Regions from separate parts of the Homo sapiens genome. Here all the other regions are linked to region 1. The links are contacts of gene promoters, found by promoter capture Hi-C in blood cells and fetal thymus (Javierre and others, 2016). All regions are on one chromosome and are shown on one strand. The core of a region is centred on a gene start or on the middle of the fragment in contact, and the rest is flanking DNA. Distances in the headings are between cores, read along the strand shown.

Region 1 (2,804 bases), core at 222-2,721:
GATCTACTTTCTCCACCTTTGAGATCAGGGAGAGCCTCAAGAAGGTTGAAGGGACTTCAGGGCACACACTGATTCTGAGTTGAGGGTTGGGAGGTTGATTAGGTCTTGCTGGAGCCTCCAAGAATGTCAAATGTTGGCTCCCAGTAATATCAAAGCAACCTGTTGATAAGACAAAGCTAAGTTTCTTGCTCACTTAGGTAATGGAGAACAATAACTTGACAGAATTTAAGTGGTGTCTCAGAGAGGGAAGAGCAAGTTTGGGCTATATGTATTGAGATTTTGAAGTCCCATTGTAAGTCTAATATTTAATGAGGGGAATTGGTTAGAATTGAGTCAGCTACGGGTAAAAGTTTAGGATTGGTAGATAAAACAAGGCTAGGATTTTGAGGTAAAGGTTCAAAGTCTTAGAATGTAAACTGTTCTTTGATGTTTTCCATTGAAGAGTGGTTGGATCTTTGAAGAAGATACTGGATTAAGCAATAAAGATATTTGCAACTTTCCGGTCCCTGGCAAAAGTTTCTTGAAATAGTAAATGTATGTTGATGAAAATAATGGAATAAGAAGTCAGGTTAATGTAGTTGGCAAGCTATGTGAGTGTAGATGGCTTCAGTTCTCACAATAGTGAACATACCTGATAATGTACTCAACATTTGTCACTTAGAGTATTTTATCCTGGAAAGAAGCGTAGTTGGGAAAACGCACTTGAGATGATGTTTGCTGCACACAGAATTCGGACACAGAGATGTGAATCTCCTTAGGAACCATTTTCATAAAGTTAACATTGGGTCTTAATAGACATCAGTTTTTAAAAATTAGAACAGGCTTGGGCACTGCAAAAGAAAGACACATCCGTTCACTTGGCTGTTCTTTTTAAGTTTCCAGGGAGAGCGTCAGTGCCCCTTTCAACAATAAAAGCCCGCAGGAGTGCAGATTTTATTTACCCTGTCCCCACCAGCATCCTGCTGCGGCCAATGAATCCTGGCAAAACTCCAGGTCAGCCCCAGAACCAAAGAGTAACTCACCTAAGAGGAAGGTCCGTTCCCACCAAGTCTCAGACGCCTGAACTCGTGATTTTTAGGGACTTTCCCTTCCAGTCCCTTGGAATCCAGCACTTTGGTTGGAGAACAGAACTCACTTGGGGAATGGCGCGTCTGGCCAATGGAATGAAAGATACTGGAGTTTGTCTTTTCTCTTCAGGCAGCAACTCACCTACTTCGGAAGCCGATTGGCTGCGCTGGGGACACCTGTTGGCGTGCAAAAAAGAGTGGTTGGAAAGGCAAGGCCGAGGGGGCGCGCCTACCCTACCCACCCACAGCGCTCCTCCTTGACGCCGCGAGCAGGACCCTGTCTCACTGACCCCGTGCCCACGGCGGTCCTTGCCTGCTTCTATTCTCCCGGTTTCCCCAGTCCCGAGTATTGGAAAGCGAGAGCGAAAGCGAAAGCATCCTAGTCGCCGGTAGGCTGGCCTGGGCCGGGCTGGAGAGGGAGCAGGAAATAAAAACTCGGGTGTGGGAGGAGCTGGGACGCTGGCGGCAGAGCCACTGTGGCAGCTTGAGTCTCGCGCGCGCAGGAAGCGGAGGTGGAAGTTGGGGCGCAGGAATGTGGCTGTCCCCGCCTGTAAATCATGGTTGGGGAGGAGTCGCGGAGGCACCAGGCTGGGGTCTGCAGCGCGCCATCTGCTGCAGCACACAGGAGGCGCTGAGGCTAGTTGGGTAAGTGGGGAGATTTCAGGCACTTCCGAGGGGGCGGCATCCCCAGCAGGTGGGATAGGCCCGGTGACTAGGACAAAATCACGAAGAAGCCGCGGATGCAGGAAGAGTAAACTCCCTTGTCATAAATCGATTCTCCAAACGTTCATCAATATGTGGAGACGTTTATGATAGTGATGAAGAAGATGATATGGGCTCTAGGAATATGCATCTCAAAGCTGATGATCGAAGAAGATTGGAGAGGGTTTTCAAGGCAGCCTGCTGTTTAAGGACCTGCATTCTGAGTAGATGTGTATTGGAAAAGGCGATTACAGTCACAAAGGGGACAACTTTTATGCAATTGACAGAGGACTATATGATGTATATAAACAGATAGGGTTGAAAGGTGTGTTGGTAACTACAAAACACATGGGAATTTGAAGGAAGGAACTGGCCTTAAATGCATGTACAATACACCAAGAGAAGCTAAAATTACTGCTTCATCTTCTGTGGGTTCTTTGGGGTTTGGATAGAGTAACCTTAAAACATATTTGAATGCTGACTTTTTCTATGAGACTCACTTTTGGAATCTGTGCATTCCTACATTCACAAAGGGTAATCACAGCTAGTACCCAGCATCCAAACAATAGCAGCCAATAATTCTAATCTGGAGAAAATTTTCTTTTCTCTCTCTTTCTCTCTCTCTCTCTCTTTCTTTCTTTCTCTTTCTTTCTTTCTTTCTCTTTCTTTTTTTCTTTTTCTTTCCTTCTTTCTTTCTCTTTTTTCTTTTCTTCTTCATTCCTTCCTTCCTTTCTTCCTTTCTTTTTTCTCTTTATTTCTTCTCTTTCTTTCTTTCTTCTTTCTTTTTTCTTTTATCTTTCTTTCTTTCTCACTTTTCTCCTTCCCTCCCTCCCTCCTTTCTTCCTTCTTTCTCTTTTGCCTGTTTTACATTTTAATGTGTAAGCAAATAGTGATTAAAGGACAATAGGCTTAACATTTTCTAAAACATGGGTGTTCAGAATTGAATATACTGATAAAATTTGTTTCCAAAAGGAAGGATTATATACTAGGTGGGAGTGTAAATTAGTTCAACCATTGTGGAAAACAGTGTGGCAA
Region 2 (2,804 bases), core at 153-2,652, 1.6 Mb after region 1:
ATTTATCTAATCCAGTGGTCACTGAATGCCAGGTGTCCTGCTGGTCATCCAGACCCTGGGACTAATAGGCAGAGTCCTAAGCCTCTGACAGCCTCAGGTCTAGAGCTCTTTGAAGGAGACGTGCTGGGAGAGGAATTTCTTAATAGGGCTATCATAAGACAAGGGAGAGCTGCACAAAGTGGAGTATGAATATAAAGGGCCCCACATCCTTCCCTTTTCAGGAGCTGGGAGCCCCCAGGTTTTCAAATTACTCATTTGGACAAAGTTACATAGCCTCATTTACTCTAGGAGGGCATTGTGGAGAGTCTCTGGTTTCCACTTCAATCACCTTGTGTGAGTGGCCCCGAAGCTGGGAGTGGGAATTCTAACACTCTTTGGGAGCAGTAACTACAGCCATAGGCTGTCTGCAGCTGCCTTGGGGCAGGGAGTTACCACTGCTGGTGTCTAGGACTTGCCTCTGATGGGTATCTTCCTATTCTGGGAAGGAGAGAGCTGTGCTGACAAGCTCCGCCTCAGGAGCTGGGTGGAAATGGAATTGGGCTCCCCTCTCTTTTTATCCCCTTTCCCCAACCTCTGTGTTGTGGAGTAAGCTTGGAAGGAAGTTTAGCTTGGATTTGAATCCCAGCTTCCATCACTTTTATCAGTTGGTGACTTCGGTGAGTTCCTTAAACATTGAGCTTCAGTTGCCTGGTCTTCAGAATGGGGATAATAATATCGATTCCGTGGGAGTGCTGTGAGAGTCTGCAGTGCTTAATAAATGTTAGTGTCCTTCTCGTTGCTCCTGGCTTCTCGTTTCAACTCCTTCCTGCACAGCACCTGATGTGGCTATGGAAGAAAACCGATTCCTTGAGGGGTGGAGATGGGGAGGTCTTGATCACTGCTCTGAACAGCGGCTGCTCCACCCCAGGATCTGCCGCATCCAGCCATGGTTATCTGTAAAGATGCAACAGATGGCACCGAGAGATGGCGACTCTCCCATGCCTCCTGGCCCCAATTATGGGGTGACAGGGGCTGGAGGAGGTGGGGTTGGCAGCCAGGCTGGGATGGCTGGGTGGGTTGGGAAGAAGAGGCCTGACATGAAATGATACACATAAGAGTGGCTGCAAGAACCAAGTGGAGGGCTATTAGGGACCCACATGGCATCTAAGTCCCCTATGAGTTTATCCTGGAGATAGGAGAGACCCTGCCTGCCCTTGACACCTGCCACTGTCCCCTATGTAACTTTTTTTTTTTTTTTTGAGACAGAGTCTCACTCTGTCACCCAGGCTGGAGTGCATTGGCATGATCTTCGCTCACTGCAACCTTCTCCCCCTGGGTTCACGCGAGCACGTCTGGCTAATTTTTGTATTTTTAGTAGAGACGGGCTTTCACCATGTTGGCCAGGCTGGTCTCGAACACCTGACCTCAAGTCACCCACCCGGCTCGGCCTCCCGCAGTGCTGGGATTATAGACATGAGCCACCACTCTTGGCCTACCCCTTGTGTAACTTCTTCCTGCCTTCTCCACCTGGTGCTGGTGGTGTTTCTTTAAAATCAACTTTCTTGAAGATTACATCATACATTTTGATGAGGTCTGACAAATTTATATGCCTCAGTACCCACCACACAATATTTAGAACCTCCTCAAACTCCTGCTTCTCTTTAGAGGGCTCATCCCTCCACCTGCATTTTTAAATATGTAAAATATGTAAAACAGCTTTATTAAGATATAATTTCCATGCCTCACAAGTCACCCATTTCAAGTATATAATTTAACAGTTTTAGTATGTTCAGAGTAGTGCAACCATCACCAGAGTCCATTTCAGAACAGTTTCTTTATCCCCAAAAGTAACTCTGTACCATTAGCAGTACTCACTCGCCTCACCCCCACCTCTGCCCCCAAGCACTAGGCAACCACTCATCTATTTCCTGTCATAGCTTTGCCTGTGATAAAAGTTAGATTTACCTATTCTGAACATTTCATTTAAATGGAATCTTGTAATATGTAGCCTTTTGTGATTGGCTGCTTTCACTTAGCATAATGTTTTTGAGGTTCATCCTTGTAGCATGTATCAGGACTTCTTTTTATTGCTGAGTAAATACTCCATTGTATGGATCAACCACCATTCTATTTATCCATTTGTCAGTTGATGGAGATTTGGGTTGTTTTCACATTTTGGCTATTATGAATAATGGTCTGGCTGGGTGTGGTGGCTCATCTGTAATCCAAGCTTATTTCAAGGCTAAGGCAGGAGGATCACTTGAGGCCAGGAGTTTGAATGTGCAGTGAGCTATGATTGTGCCACTATACTCCAGCCTGGGCCACAGAGTGAGACCCAAATGTTCTTCTGGACTTTTTTTTTTTAATTTTTTTGAGACAGGGTCTCTCACTCAGTGACCCAGGCTGGAGTGCAGAGGCACAATCACAGTTCACTGCAGCTTCAACCTCCTGGGCTCAAATGATCCTCCCACCTCAGCCTCCAGAATAGTTGGGACTACAGGCCCGCATCAACACATCCAGCTAATTAAAAAAAAATTTTTTTATAGAGACTGGGTCATGCTATGTTGCTGAGACTGGTCTCGAACTCCTGGGCTCAAGTGATCCTCCCTCCTGGGCCTCCCAAAGTGTTGGGATTATAGGTGTGAGCCACCCCGCCTAGCCCTTGTAAAGTTTTTAATGTCGAGGTATGCTTTCATTTTTCTTAGGAATTGCTGGTCAGTTGCAAGGGTAACTATGTTTAACATTTTGAGGAGCTACCAAATTGTTTTCCAAAGTGGCTACACTATTTCATATTCTTAAAAAAATTTTTTTTTTATTTTTGAGAC
Region 3 (2,804 bases), core at 173-2,672, 1.5 Mb after region 1:
GAAATCTCCCAGTTTGAAGAACCTATTCAGATCTCTCCAGATGGGTCTACAAAAAGATGAGTGAGCTGTCAAGACTTAACACAGGGTTGTATCTAGGCTTTGCAACCTAAGAGCTACACAATCTTAGCCAAACTGTTTAAACCTTTCTGACCCTCAGTTTTTCATCCATAAAATGGGGCTGTTACCTCCCAGAAGTTATTAGGTTTCACAGTAACGGAGGCAGTGTCTATCACAAGCACTGCATACAGAAGTAGTTCCATAAATGAGAGCTATTAGTATAACTAACAAGTGAGGCTACCCAGATTCCCACCAGGGTAGCTGACTGGTGCCCAGATGGGAGAGGAATTGCAATGCTGAGGAGGCAGCCAGCGCTGGGTAGCACTACACGGCCAATGCCCTTTTAACATTGCACTGCTAGTGACAGGTGCAGACAGTAGCACAATGTGAAAAGAGCTCTGGCCAGCAGCAGAGGCATGCCGGCCCTGCCTCCTCACTCCTTCTCCCAGTCCCTGGCCCACTCAGCTCACGGGCTCCCTCTGCCCCTTCTTTGCTTCAATACAGCTTTTTTCCCTTTTATTCCATTCTTAGTGTTCATTCTATTTTTTCACCACTCTTCCTTTTGCCGCCTTCTTCACCAACCCCCTGACCCCCAGCACAGAGACCACCTTTTTCTTGGAGGTTTTGGCATGGGAGGACAGGACCCACTAAAGCAGCTGCAGGGATACTTCGGGCTTGATGCTCAGTCCTCAAAGAAAACGGCTATTAGCAATCCCCAAAGTCTGGAGGTCACTCGTATGAGGCTGTGTTCATCTGGATTTGCATTTCCGCTAGCTTACCTTCTAGAGAGGAGCTTGCTGCCCAAGACTACAGAACCCTCTACTCTTCTCTAAGTTTCCATCTCCTTTTAAATTTAGATAAAGCAGAGCTCTAGGCCTCAAGGCAACACTCTCAGATGACCTTCCAGGACCAGAGAGGTGGGAGCCTGTAGTCACAGCTCCCCACGCAGTAGAGAGAAGCTTCCAGGCGGGGAGGTGAAAGCTGCTGGTGAAGCCCCACCCCTGCATCTCCTTTTGGAGGTCCTGAAAGCACTTTGCAGATTCAGCATTAAAATGGTGAGGGTGATTCGCTCACAGTTACTGAGAGTTAGGGATAGGCTTTCACTGGCAGTGGGATTCACATCTGAGTTATTTCCTGTCTTATCCAGGGACCCTTGGTTGGGGAGTCTTCAAGCTCATCCTAGCACTTCCCCATCCTATCCAACCCTAAGGGGGCTTAAATACAGGACAAACAGTCCCCGGAAGATTAACACCCAAAGCCAGAAAGCTGCCCTGGAAGGACACCTGGATATCTGGAGGCTCAGACCCAGGCAGGCTCTATTGTGGCACATTCCAGCTAGGGCCACAGCCCCGGAGCCCAGCTCCAGTTCTGACCCAGTGAACTTTGGGCAGCCCAGAGAAACAGAGGCTGGAGGGTGATTCCTCCAGTGCCCCGATCAACGAAGGGGAGATGCCTTCTTCCCTAATCCACAGCCACCGTAAGGAATAGAGGACAGAATTCCAGTTGGGAGCTCTTCCTCTGGGCTTCCCTCTAGCCTCGTCCCACCCCCTCAGGAAGCAGGAGACGTTCCCTCCCGCTCTCCCCGGCAGAGTTTGTTCCCGTAATCTGCAAACATGGGGCCCTGCCCTACAGTTTTAATGGGCGGAAACCAAGACCCCTCGAGGGTCAGTGACCTCTCTGCTCTGGGGTTGGGCAAACCAGGCCCAGCTGGGAACTGGATCACACCAACAGGGGGCAGAGGGGCAAAGATAAGGCTGCACAGCAAGCTTCAGGGAGGCCAGGGGAAGATTCTTCCCCAAGAAGTTTCCAGGTCTCTCCTTAGGGAGTGCAGGGAGAAAGGGCCAAGAGCCCCTCAGCTCTCACACACCCAACTCATTCCTGAGGAGCAGGCCCAGCGACTCACCAGCCAGCAGGACCCCTCCCCCACCTTGGGCCCAGGAGCCAGCCCCCAGCTCCTTCCAGAAGCGAGTGTAGAGACCGAGGAGGAAATGGGGGAGGGGAGGCCCCGGCTCAAGTTCTCTCCTCTCCCCCTCCTCATTGGCCACCATCTTCCGGCCCCTGCCCCCAGAGCAGCAGGGGATGGGGCCCAGCCTGTGAAAGGGAGAGAAAGGGCAGGTGGGGGGTTAGCTGGAGCAGCAGGGGCAGGGGGCTGGCCCCAACTGTCTCCTCCCACCCCCTCCTCGCAGCCATGGCGACGGGAGGAGGAGACCAGGAGGGTCCTGAAAGCCATGTTCTGTGAATGGGATGAGAGAGGCAGCTGGGAAGTGGGGGGTGAGGGGCGCTCTCCTTCAACACCCAACTGTGCTCCCCCCGAACACACACACCTCGAGGCTGGACCACACAGGCGCACGTACACACCACACACACACACACACACACACACAAACTCTCAGCCATACTTGCTGCACAACTCAGCCCTCATTACACACCCAAACAACAAGAACTGGAGTGTGAGCGCACGCCCCCCACACACACACATCCCCGCACCCCTCAACACCCCACAACTATCAGCTCGAAAACCAGCCTCACACCCCCACACCGCCCCTGGCTCACCCTACAACTTCTGGAGGTGCAGAACTCCCTGCCCTGCTCCAGCCCTTCGGCCCCCGGTCCCCCTCGGAACACTCCACGCCCTCGCACACAACCCAGGTGGAGACAGATGGCCCAGCTCGGCCGTGCCCAGCGGAGCCCCCCATCCCTACCCCACCACGCCCCCCACTGGAAAATGACAGTGAGGCCACCTCAGA
Region 4 (2,804 bases), core at 107-2,606, 1.5 Mb after region 1:
TTATGAAAAGAAGGAATGGATGAATGGCATCAGATACTTAAGTAATCCAAGTGCAAACCAGGGACACCAAACAGTCATTTGCAAGAGATCAAAAAGAATGGGCTTTCCCAGTTTCTTACCACCTGAAAGCTTAAGTTACACTTTGACTTAGGGCCTAGTTCCAATCAAATAGACAAGGATAGCTGTACTGGAAGGAAAATGAGCTATCTCTGGAAAATGATTAGATATGAAATCTCATTCCAAGATTATCACCAGCCTCTAACTCCCCACAGTAAATCCAGCACTGACAGCAGATTTACCATCTACTTACCTAAGCGCAGAGGAAAGGTGAACTATCATAAGAACTCACAGCCGGGCACAGTGTCTCACACCTGTAATCCCAGCATTTTGGGAGGCCGAGGCAGGCAGATCATGAGGTCAGGAGTTTGAGACCAGCCTGGCCAACATAGTGAAACCCTGTCCCTACTAAAAGAAATACAAAAAATTAGCTGGGCGTGGTGGCGGGCACCTGTAACCCCAGCTATTTGGGAGGCTGAGGCAGGAGAATCACTTGAACCTGGGAGGCAGAGGTTGCAGTGAGCCAAGATCACGCCACTGCACTCCAGCCCAGGTGACAGTGTGAGACTCTTACAAAAACAACCACCACCACCACCAAAAAAAAAAACCTGACGTGGCTCACAGGTAGGTTTCTTGGTTTTCCCCTCCTCCAAGCATTTTAGCAATAAATCATTCCAATTATGTTTCTATAACGCTTAGGGGAAAAAAATAAATTATACCAACTTCTATGATATGGCAAAAATATTTATTAAAATGATTTTTTTTAAGTTTGAACTTTATTGGAAGGAGTCCCTCTAATTCACACTTTCATCCTAGATAAATGGGTAAGAACCACATATGGAATATAAAGCATTGATTTTTTAAAAACCACATAGTAGCACAGTGAAAGAAATGCAATTCTCCAGGGTCTTAGAGAATTCAAAGTGGCATCTTAGGTGGTCTAAGAAACCAATTACAGTCTCATGGTTTTCCTTTTGGTTCAAGATTAGAAGAGTCAGGTTACCACTACCTGTTTTTAGAGGTAGAATATGAACTTTCTACTAGTCCACAGTTTACTGGTCAGGTGGCCCCAACAGTCTTTTATCTCAGCCCATCTGCCTCTAGGGGTGGCCAGATGATCTCTATGTCCCAGGCAGCAAGGCTTCCTGCTGATCTCTACTTCAGATCCATGAACCGGATATCCATGATGAGAAGGAAGTTCTTAGGCAGTGGGCGAGGGGCTGGAGACAGAACAGTAAACACCTGATGCTCCAGGTCCACACTGGTCACCACAATGAAGCCAGCTACACTTGTCTCGGACAGGTTCTCCTCTGTACCCTCGGCAGTGCTAACACTCAGTAGGTGGTGCACCATATCTCGCCCAGGAGTGACAGGTACTAGCTTGAGCTGATTATCCTCTTGAGACATGCCCAAAGGTAAACAGGAGTCTGGGATGGTGGGTGCCCCAACTTTGTAGATTTTCACATCTGAAAATTTGACATTGAAGGCATGGGGATAGAAACAGCCTCGGAATCCATAAAAATACTCACGGATACGCTCATCCCTACATTCCCGCCGGAAGTCCTTGGAGCGCTCCACCACACCCCCAGATTTAGGGAGCAGCACAGTGCGTACAAAGTGGGGGAGGTCCCGTTTCAGTTCATTGTACAGTCGTTCTTGATCCAGAACAACAACGACATCCACCTCAAAAGCTGAGGCTGCATGCACCAGAGCCTGGTAACCAGAGCCCTTGACCCAGCCACAGGTGTTAATGACACAGCCACTCACAGATGCCCTTCGGTTCACCTCACACCTTTGGTTGAACACATCTGCTAAACGAGATGTAATCTGCAAAAGAGAGGATCAAGGTAAGAACAAAAACACCCAGACAAACCCATGGCTACTTTGTTCCTCTTTAGAATAAGTGCTATTAGATATAAGAAAAATGATTTTTTTTTTGAAATGGAGTCTCACTCTGTTGCCCAGGATGGAGTGCAGTGGCACGATCTCAGCTCACTGCAACCTCCACCTCCCGCGTTCAAGTGATTCTCCTGCCTCAGTCTCTGAACAGCTGGGATTACAGGCACCAGCCACCACGCCCAGCTACTTTTTGTATTTTTAGTAGAGACAAGGTTTCACCATGTTGGCCAGGCTGCTCTCCAACTCCTGACCTCAGGTGATCCACCCGTCTCAGCCTCCCAAGTTGTGGGATTACAGGCATGAGCCACTGTACCCAGCCTGAAAAAATGACATTTTTAATGGCTGTAGTTTTGATACCATAACATGGATTTAATTTTTATGTTGCTGCTTCTGCCTCCTGTTTTATGCCCTAAGTGAAAATCTAACAAATTACTAAGAATAGATCCACAGAAATGTTTAACAATCTGAGACTGACATATTTGGAATTGCCTTTCTAAAGTAATGCAGCAGAAATACCAGCTGAGAAAATGCAGTGTTAACTAGTAAACTTCTCCAGTTTCCTACCCTGATAGCAGCCCTTCCCTCCACCCCACCTTTCTCTGGCTCTGACCTTATTATAAAGCTTGATGTTAGTGCCAGGAGTGGTGGAACCAAAATGATACACCAGAGGGGCCTGGATAGAGAAACCCTCTTCGACATCTGCAGGCCGCTCGATGTAGAGGGCCCCCATGGTACCAGGGATGGACACAGAACCCTGGCCCACATCCAGCTCCACATAAGTGGGACGGCGGCCCAAACGCACTGCGTAGTTGAGCAGAAGGCGACACACTGTAGACTTGCCCACATCA
Region 5 (2,804 bases), core at 215-2,714, 1.4 Mb after region 1:
TGCTATGCACGTTAAAATAAAATTTCTATGCCTTTCTCCTATTAATGTGCCCTTTGTCGGTTGATTTTTCAACAAACCCTCAGAGAGCAAAGGGGAAGCTTTTCCTTGGCCCCTACATGCTATATGGCAGAAGGGAAAGTGCTTTAAGTTTATGTTCCGAGCAGTCCCTCCACCCATACCAAGGAAGCACAGCAAGGAGCTTGGGACACTTCCCAAAGAAATCCCAAAGATTTCTTTACAACGTATTTTTTACAATTCCTTTACAGTAGCCCCCAAATTTTATCCACTTTCGCATCTTCAGGATCAAGCAGAGTGCCTAGAGTGTACACTCTAGAAATGTTTATTGAATTAAGAAGCGGCTGACAGTGTTGTGCAGGTAGTGTGGCCAGAAGAGTAGTTTCAAGTCCCAGGCACTCATTAGTTGTATGACCTGGGGCAAGTCACCTAAATATACCGAGATCCATTTCTTCACCAATGAAACAGGAATATTACTACTTGCCTTGTCTACCTTACTGGCTCCTCAGGAGGCTTTACATAATGAGCGGCACTGTAAAACGTTATACACGTGTATGTACAGTTTTGATAGGGCTGTTAATTAGTCTCAATGGTGAAACAGAAAGAAACCTGGACTCAACAGTCAAAAGCTGTTGGGCCGTTGTGCATGGGCTACGACTAACATGTTCCGTTTTCCCATCTTAAACACAAAGTTTAGACTCGATGATGGTTCGGACCCTGCACTTAATAGTCTCTAAGTCCGCTACAGGCTCGGAACCTCAGGTGTCCTCAGAGAGGTAAACCCCAGGGTTCCCAGATACACCTGCAAGGGCAGGGACAGTCAAGGTCGCGGGGTACTAACACGCGGGAGGCTCACCCAGTCAAAGTCACACGGGTTACCGTCTTCGCGTTGGGTGGGCAGACCGTGGCAGAGCGGCGGCAGTTTCCTCACGAGTAGGAAGGCAGCAGAGAGCAGGGCCGACAGAAGGTAGTAAGGTTGGGCGAGCCATCGTGAAAGTCGCGGCACCGAATACACGAGAGCAATTAGAGGTGCCAAGACCGCCATCTTTTCGGCCGTAACGGCCACTGCTCGCCGGCGTCGTAGGTCTCGCCCCGCCTCCCCCACCATAACGACTGCTATTGGGCTATATCGCAAACGTACGGCCTCTAAACCCGGATGTAGTTCTCTGAACGCTGTGGTAGGTCAGAACCCAAAAAAGAACTTAATATTTTATTGGTTAGTCTAGTTGTCGCTTTATCCGCCTAAGTCATTTTATTGGACTGTAGCAAGCAGAGCTAGCAGAAGACTCTAATAAGGTTAAATAGCACTTCCTGAACGTTCTCATAAGGCGACGGAAGTAGTTGTTGAAAAAAGGTAGGCGGTGCCTGAGGCATCCAATGACAAGCGGCTCCTTGAGAAAGGGCGGGGGGGTACTCCTTGAAAGCATTGTCCAATGAAAATTACCAACGGCAGACACGGAGACAGCGCCGGGGCGGAGGGTACGATGGAGAATTTCACGGCACTGTTTGGGGCTCAGGCTGACCCACCACCGCCCCCAACCGCACTCGGCTTCGGACCAGGAAAGCCTCCACCCCCGCCACCGCCTCCTGCGGGCGGGGGACCCGGCACGGCCCCGCCTCCCACCGCGGCCACGGCTCCTCCTGGCGCGGACAAGTCAGGAGCTGGCTGTGGCCCTTTTTACCTCATGAGGGAACTGCCAGGTGAGTACTCGGCCTTGCCAAAGCCAGCCAATCAAATCTTAGAGAGGAGGTGATGGGCGTGGCTCTCAGCCGGCTAGCGGAGGTGCGAGGTAACCTAGGCAACGCATACCCGGACTGTGGAGCCCTAAGTCGGAAGCGCTGTTAGGATTCACAAGCAGAGGGATGACTTGAATTCAACCAGGATGAGTTGAATTCAACCAAAGGGATGAATGGCGGGCAGGGGCGTAGTGCATCTCCGTTACTGTCTTTTGCACCATGTCCAGGCTGTGTCCCTGACACTGGTTTATGTCTCTCTAAAAAATGACCTAGGGCTGGGCGCGGTGGCTCACGCCTGTAATCCCAACACTCTGGGAGGCGGAGGCGGGCGAATCACCTAAGGTCAGGAGTTCGAGACCGGCCTGGCCAACATGATGAAACCCTGTCTCCACAAAAAACACAAAAATTACCTGGGCGTGGTGGCGTATACCTTTAATTCCAGCTACTCGGGAGGCTGAGGCGGGAGAATCGTTTGAACCCCGGGAGGCGGAGGTTGCAGAGAGCCGACATTGCTCCACTGCACTCCAGCCTGGGCGAACGAGACTCCGTCTCAAAACAAACAAAATCCAGGGTTTGAGTTTGGAACTCGAGAGGCCTGATTTAATATCTTTGGGGACCCAAAGTTTTAGTTACAGGTCTCCCACAGACTTGCTATTGGTTTGGGGCAAGTTGCCATTCTTCCTTCTAAGGTTCCGGCATTTCCTGGTCTGATCAAAAAAGGGATAAGAATCGAACCAAACTCTTCATTCAAAAAATTATTTTGTTGAGTACCTATGTACCAAGCACTTTTCTAAATGCTGGAGACAGTTGTGAACAAGACTGACAAGATGCTTGCCTTTTTTGGGATGTACATTTCAGTGGAGGAGGCATTGTAAACAAGATAATGTCAGAAAGTGGTTAATGCTAGGAAAAGAAAACATGATAAAAATTGAAGGTGGCCAGGCGCGTTGCTCACGCCTGTAATCCCAGCGCTTTGGGAGGCCGAGGCAGAATCCCTTGAGCCCAGGAGTTTGAGACCAGCATGGGCAACATGGCGAGACCCAGTCTCTACA
Region 6 (2,804 bases), core at 217-2,716, 1.4 Mb after region 1:
CCTCGAGACTTAGCCTCCCGCCCAAAGCGCTCCTCCTGTTCTGATTGGTTCTCCCGGGAGCCTTCGGCCAATGGGGATGACGTATGCCGGACGACGTAGGCCCGAGGACTCGGGAGGAGGAGGGGCGTAGGGCTCTGCGACGCGCAGCGCGCTAGGACGGTGGCACGAGGTGTGTGGCGCTGGCCGCGTGGCCTTACAACCCTCGCTATCACTACCACCCAGTGCATGTGGGTGCTGAAGCCCGCAGGGATACAAGGGCGCCAGGGGCTGCCTGCAAAGTCTATGCTGGCGGAGGTGGCCGTGACGGGAAGTCCTGACTTTGGGCCTCCCGGATCCCCACGGTCCATTCCCAGAAACCCTCGCGCCTAGGAGTCTTTCTTCAAAGGAGTTGGGCCAGGGCGCCCAAGCGTGCGGGCCACCCCGCTTTGCAGGGCTCTCCCTGAAGCCCTGCTTTCTCCGCCAACACCGATTCCCTTGCTTCTGGATGGGGAGGTGAAGCACTCAGCCGTTGGCCCACCTGCGCATCTTTGCTCAGCCTCCTGACTCAACGCTGAACATTGAGAGGAAGCAAGGCAGGCTGGACAGAGGACAAGCACAGAGAAGGCAACAGGAGCAAAGTCTACCGAAAAGCTATTTCAAGTTGGGTCTGGAGGCAAGGCCAGGCGATCGTGGATTGAGAAGCTTCCCCAGGGCCCTTGCAACAGCTGCCATCCTCCATCCACATCTCTCTCACTGGGATGGGAATTTTTTTTTTTTTTTTGAGACGGAGTCTCGCTCTGTCGCCCAGGCTGGAGTGCAGTGGCTCTATCTACAACCTCTGCCTCCCAGGTTCAAGCGATTCTCCCACCTCAGCCTCCTGAGTAGCTGAGATTACAGGCGCCTGCCACCATGCCCGGCTAATTTTCGTATTTTTGTAGAGACGGGGAGTCACCATGTTGGCCAGGCTGGTCTCAAACTCCTAACCTCAGGTGATCCACCCGCCTCGGCCTCCCAAAGTGCTGGGATTACAGGCGTGAGCCACCCCGCCCAGCCAAGCCCGCCTTCTCTTAATTTACCTTTTCATTCTTCTTTCCTGATAGTTTTGACGTGAACTGTTCGGACCCTCAGTGCTACCTGATAGAAAACTGCATTCCAGGAAAGGAACACAGCTGTGCAGTGAGTGGGGGGGTTTCGGAGCTAAAAAGCTGGACATAAGCCTGAAGTCAGAATACTCAGTTTGTTTTGGGAGGGGTAAAATGCTTTACTATCCTTGCTGCATTGTTAGCCTGGTAATTAACTATACAAACGTAAAGGCCAAATTCTTTGCCTACTACCAGGGTCAGTCAGGCTCGCTTTGGTCAAGTACACCCAGCCAAGGGTGGCAACGTCCTTGGTTCTGTGAGAGACCTTCCCGCAGAGTCAGAGGCTTCTCTTCTTTATTGTGCACCCTCTGCTGGTTAGTGTGATACAGTGAGCTCAGAGAAAAGGCGCATACGACTTACTAGAGATAATTTTATACCCAGTAATGTTTCCTTAAAAGTGTTAACTTGAAGATTATACCTGTGGAGCTGGGATGTGGTGCTCAGGAAGAATATAAGTAGTCAGCATTGTAGCAGTTGAGTCTCAGTGGTAATGGAAATGAGGAAGGTTGAAGGATAATAATAGTTACCATTTGGGGCTTGGTAGTTATTTTGTGCCAGGCACTCACTGTGCTAAGCAACTTTACCTTCACTGACTCATTTAATCTTTAAAACAACCCTACAAGGTAAGTACTATTATTCTATTTCATGGATAGGAAAGTGAGACTCAGAGAAGTTAGGTCACCTGTGTGAGATTATACAGCCAGGCTAATAAATAGAGCCAAGACCCAAACCTAGGCTTATCTCTGAGCTCCCACATGTAACCACTATGATAATTTTCTTTCTTGAGATATCCTTGGCACAATTTCTGGGCTGATGTTTCCTCAACTCATACTATTATCTCTCACTTTCAAAATTCCCCTGCCATTTCAAAGACAAAAAACAAATTAGATGTAACCATGCCTCTGAAATGTATTATCTCACCTACAGGAGTCTGATCTGTGAAAACCTAGAAGGTTTGTTAAGACTCTTGCCAACATGTGCTCTCCTGCCAGTCCCAAAATCCTATACAGGAACCCCCGGTTCCTCAGGTTAGCTTTTCTGCAGCTTCATCACCAGCAGCAGAGTGATGTGTTCTGTGATGTCCTTCTGCAGGCAGAAGGTAAGAGAGTGGTCGGAATTCAACTGAAAACTCACCATAGAATAAGATAAAATGAGTTCAGAGCCAGAGGGTAAAGGACAAAATCAGCAAAATATTACTGCCTATGACCACTGTAAACTATTTGGTAAAGGGCTGTTTGTTTCTAGGACAATTACTACTGTTTTCAAGAGTGAAATTGTGACTTTGCTTCTTTCTCTTAAATAATGAATCTAATTGTAAAGTTTTATAAGCAGATACATTCTATATAACATGGATAATATTCCAATGGGATGGTTGTGAAGATTAAGAGTTAATGTGGGTAAGCACTTAGAATAGTGCTTTTAATATACTAACCACAATATGTGTTAGATGATACTATTATGTTTTCTTTTTGAGAGTCTCACTCTCTTGCCCAGGCAGGAGTGTGGTGGCACAATCACAGCTACCTGCAACCTCCACCTCCTGGGTTCAAGTGATTCTCATGCCTTAGCTTTCTCAAGTAGCTGAGATTACAGGCATGCGCCACTACGCCCAGCTAACTTTTGTATTTTTAGTAGAGATGAGGTTTTGCCATGATGGCCAGGCTGGTCTCAAACTCCTGGCCT
Region 7 (2,804 bases), core at 127-2,626, 1.3 Mb after region 1:
TAATGATATGTACCAGATGCAGTAATTCAAGATGGAATATATACTTCTCGTATGGAAGTATATAATACATATGTAGAATGGAACACAGCACACAGAGGTGTATTCCAAAGAGAGAAAGATTATATAGCAGCATTTATAGGATATAAAAAGAATTCAGGAAAACTTTAATAAAATAAAGGCACTTGAGTTTAACCACAAAAAGATAAATAAGAAGAGAAAGGCATCACAGAAAGAACAGACCTTCCTCACCCATGCCCTAACCTCCTAGTACTCTGTACCCCTTTTGCTGAATTTATCACAGCCTGACTTGAAATACAAATAACTAGGGCAAGGACATAGACACACACAAGTCCAGGACTAGACCACCTTACATGTGGTAGATGCTGAACAAAAGCTTACCAAAGTAGATGAACAAAGTCAAAGAGGCATAAAAGTGAAGAGGATGTGTGGGGAACAGCAAGAAAACTGATATAGGTACATGTGGTATACATGAGAGAATAGCAACAAAGATAGAAAGGTTGGAGTTACAGTATGCAATACAGATAGGAATGGAGGCTAAAGAATAGGCTAAAGAATTTTAATTTTTTTTTTTTTTTAGGAAATTTAAGTCAGTCCTCAAAAATTCATCTTCATATTCTCAAAGTCCCTACTGTTACCTAAGGCAGCCAGCTGTGTTGGTGAGCACCGATTCCCACTCAATGTGGCGTGGCTTACAGTCTTCATTAGGTTCCCGCTCCCAACCAGAATGAGGAATGATCACTTCATCTGTCAAGGCATGCAGTGCATGGTCCACAATCTCCATTTTGATTGAGTCATGGGATGAAAGATTCCACAGGGTTCCTGGAAGAGACAATTCATCAGATGGCTCTTGAGCATTCAAGACAATATGTCTGAAGAACGTCAAAGAGAATCCCCCTATCGTATCACTTCTCAGTCTTCCCCAGTGACCAAATACCTTATAGTAATATTCAAGCTTTGTTTGCGACCCTCACCAAGAAACATATTCTACATTATAGCTCAAAATAAACATACAGATCATGAAACAAACAATGTTTAACTATAAGCAACGCTCAGGCTGGGTGTGGTGGCTCACGCCTGTAATCCCAGCAATTTGGGAGGCCAAGGCGGGCGGATCACAAGGTTGGGAGATCAAGACCATCCTGGCTAACACTAAAAATACAAAAAATTAGCCGGGCGTGGTGGCGGGCACCTGTAGTCCCAGCTACTTGGGAGGCTGAGGCAGGAGAATGGCGTGAACCCATGAGGCGGAGCTTGCGGTGAGCTGAGATTGTGCCACTGCACTCCAGCCTGGGTGACAGAGCGAGACTCCATCTCAAAAAAAACAAACAAAACTATAAGCAATGCTCAATGCTCTCCGATCTGTCTATACCAGAGTTTTTCAACCTCAGCACCACTGACATTTTCGGCCAGATGATTCTTTGTTATGAGGAGCTGTCTTGTCTATTGTTGGATGTTTACCAGTACCCCTGGCCTTTACTCACTAGATGCCAGTAGCACTCCCTCTCCCCTGTTCCAAGTTATAACAACCAAAAATATCTCCAACACTGCAAATGTCCAAATGTCCTCAGGGCAGGGCAGGCAAAATGGCCCACAACTGAGAAACAATGGTCTATACTACTTTTTCTTTATTCCTTTCCCTTGGAATGCTGATTATGCTCCACAAAATTTTGTTTTATTCACTAACGGATCACACAAATAGATCACAACCCACAATCTGAAAAACTACTGCTCTAAATAAAGCAAGAACCACAAGCTTAAATGTCTATATGGGTCAAGCCGGTGAGTCAAGAGAGGAAGATAATTAAAAGAAATTACAAGCATGTGAAAAAATAGCAGTTGACAGCTCCATGTTTGGGAAACAACTTCCTAAACAGCTGTAGTTGGTCAGATAATAGAATGTGTTGGAGATTAGTGTAAATTAGAGAGCACATGCTCCAATCAGTTCAGACCAAATACTGCTAAGGAAGAAAAGAGATCCATTGTTAACAACTCTTCCACGTTTTTAATAGAAGCCAAGAATCTGGAATTTTAAGTGAAATCTTCTGAATTTTAAACATCAGCAACCAGTTCTTTAAAATTTCAATAATGCTGTGTGATCCAAACAAATCTGTGAGATGGATTTGACCCACAGCCACCAGTTCACAACCTTTCATCAAAAGTAAAAGGTCTGGAAATCCCTCTAGTTCTCAACATCACTAGAGAGTAACACTGACTTAGCAATTTTCCTTAGGCCTAGAACTCACCGGTAATAACTTCAGTAAGGTCCATATCACGAGCCTTTCGAAGCAATCGCACAAGGGCAGGCACACCATCACAGTTTTTTATGGCAATCTTGTTATCCTGGTCACGTCCAAAAGAGATATTCTTGAGAGCTCCACAGGCTCCAAGGTGCACTTCCTTTTTGGGATGGTCTAACAATCCCACCAGTACTGGGATGCCCTTGAGCTTCCGCACGTCAGTCTTCACCTTGTCATTGCGGTAGCATAAGTGTTGCAGGTATGCAGCTGCATTGGACTTGACAGCATCCAAGCGGAATCCAAGCATGGCGATCACCTCTGGCAGCTCTGGCTGTCTCCAATTAGGAGGTGGAGGCCCTCCTTTGCGCAGGCTATCCAAGCTTGCTAAACTTCCTCGCTCATGCTGGGCCAAAGGAGCCCAGTAGTATTGATCCGATGGCACCTCCTCACCAATCATGTCTTCATAGCTCCTGAGAAGTTTTGGAAGAACCAAGAGAATACATCAAGTCATTATGGCTAGCTTCCTGGACATTCCCATTACCCTCA

The links. The method cuts DNA at HindIII sites, captures the fragments that hold promoters and counts their contacts. A CHiCAGO score of 5 or more calls a contact.
Region 2: a contact is called between a fragment that was not itself captured here and the fragment with the promoter of FAM111A in region 1, in 1 of 17 cell types (non-activated CD4 T cells). The highest score is 5.3, in non-activated CD4 T cells.
Region 3: a contact is called between a fragment that was not itself captured here and the fragment with the promoter of FAM111A in region 1, in 1 of 17 cell types (fetal thymus). The highest score is 5.6, in fetal thymus.
Region 4: a fragment that was not itself captured here is called in contact with the fragment with the promoter of FAM111A in region 1 in 2 of 17 cell types (fetal thymus and activated CD4 T cells); the score reaches 5.6 in fetal thymus.
Region 5: a contact is called between the fragment with the promoter of MED19 here and the fragment with the promoter of FAM111A in region 1, in 5 of 17 cell types (naive CD4 T cells, total CD8 T cells, fetal thymus and 2 more). The highest score is 8.7, in naive CD4 T cells.
Region 6: the fragment with the promoter of BTBD18 here is called in contact with the fragment with the promoter of FAM111A in region 1 in 7 of 17 cell types (fetal thymus, non-activated CD4 T cells, total CD8 T cells and 4 more); the score reaches 17.5 in fetal thymus.
Region 7: a fragment that was not itself captured here is called in contact with the fragment with the promoter of FAM111A in region 1 in 1 of 17 cell types (non-activated CD4 T cells); the score reaches 5.5 in non-activated CD4 T cells.

What each region holds. Positions count from the first base shown.
Region 1 is chr11:59,141,523-59,144,326 of GRCh38, reverse strand. It overlaps FAM111A (FAM111 trypsin like peptidase A), which reads right to left and starts at 1,471. Exons shown (of 6, transcript NM_001312909.2): 1 at 1,381-1,471; 2 at 1,023-1,244; 3 at 632-830. It overlaps FAM111A-DT (FAM111A divergent transcript), which reads left to right and starts at 1,519. Exons shown (of 4, transcript NR_110184.1): 1 at 1,519-1,712. It also overlaps the pseudogene LOC100422399. RefSeq lists an enhancer at 1,254-1,703. The HindIII fragment of the contact is 3,476 bases long and covers 1-2,804 here.
Region 2 is chr11:57,510,978-57,513,781 of GRCh38, reverse strand. The region is part of intron 2 of SLC43A1 (solute carrier family 43 member 1); the gene reads left to right. Among named protein-coding and RNA genes, the nearest start is that of SLC43A1, 3.3 kb to the left of the region's middle. The HindIII fragment of the contact is 1,619 bases long and covers 593-2,211 here.
Region 3 is chr11:57,638,862-57,641,665 of GRCh38, reverse strand. All of the region lies in intron 1 of MIR130AHG (MIR130A host gene), which reads right to left. MIR130A (microRNA 130a) reads right to left here and starts at 468; the gene lies at 380-468. RefSeq lists an enhancer at 1,671-2,250. The HindIII fragment of the contact is 807 bases long and covers 1,019-1,825 here.
Region 4 is chr11:57,659,845-57,662,648 of GRCh38, reverse strand. CLP1 (cleavage factor polyribonucleotide kinase subunit 1) reads right to left here. Exons shown (of 3, transcript NM_006831.3): 2 at 2,567-2,804; 3 at 784-1,884. The coding sequence ends at 1,213. Among named protein-coding and RNA genes, the nearest start is that of CLP1, 3.5 kb to the right of the region's middle. The HindIII fragment of the contact is 2,449 bases long and covers 132-2,580 here.
Region 5 is chr11:57,710,875-57,713,678 of GRCh38, reverse strand. MED19 (mediator complex subunit 19) reads left to right here and starts at 1,464. Exons shown (of 5, transcript NM_001317078.4): 1 at 1,464-1,716. The coding sequence starts at 1,500. It overlaps TMX2 (thioredoxin related transmembrane protein 2), which reads right to left and starts at 1,086. Exons shown (of 8, transcript NM_015959.4): 1 at 872-1,086. The coding sequence starts at 1,060. TMX2-CTNND1 (TMX2-CTNND1 readthrough (NMD candidate)) reads right to left here and starts at 1,156. Exons shown (of 21, transcript NR_037646.1): 1 at 872-1,156. RefSeq lists a silencer at 1,494-1,833. The HindIII fragment of the contact is 3,048 bases long and covers 101-2,804 here.
Region 6 is chr11:57,750,481-57,753,284 of GRCh38, reverse strand. BTBD18 (BTB domain containing 18) reads left to right here and starts at 1,466. Exons shown (of 3, transcript NM_001145101.3): 1 at 1,466-1,744; 2 at 2,049-2,220. The coding sequence starts at 2,097. The region is part of intron 2 of TMX2-CTNND1 (TMX2-CTNND1 readthrough (NMD candidate)); the gene reads right to left. The HindIII fragment of the contact is 11,151 bases long and covers 684-2,804 here.
Region 7 is chr11:57,801,657-57,804,460 of GRCh38, reverse strand. It overlaps CTNND1 (catenin delta 1), which reads right to left. Exons shown (of 21, transcript NM_001085458.2): 7 at 2,265-2,728; 8 at 657-840. It overlaps TMX2-CTNND1 (TMX2-CTNND1 readthrough (NMD candidate)), which reads right to left. Exons shown (of 21, transcript NR_037646.1): 8 at 2,265-2,728; 9 at 657-840. Among named protein-coding and RNA genes, the nearest start is that of CTNND1, 41 kb to the right of the region's middle. The HindIII fragment of the contact is 801 bases long and covers 976-1,776 here.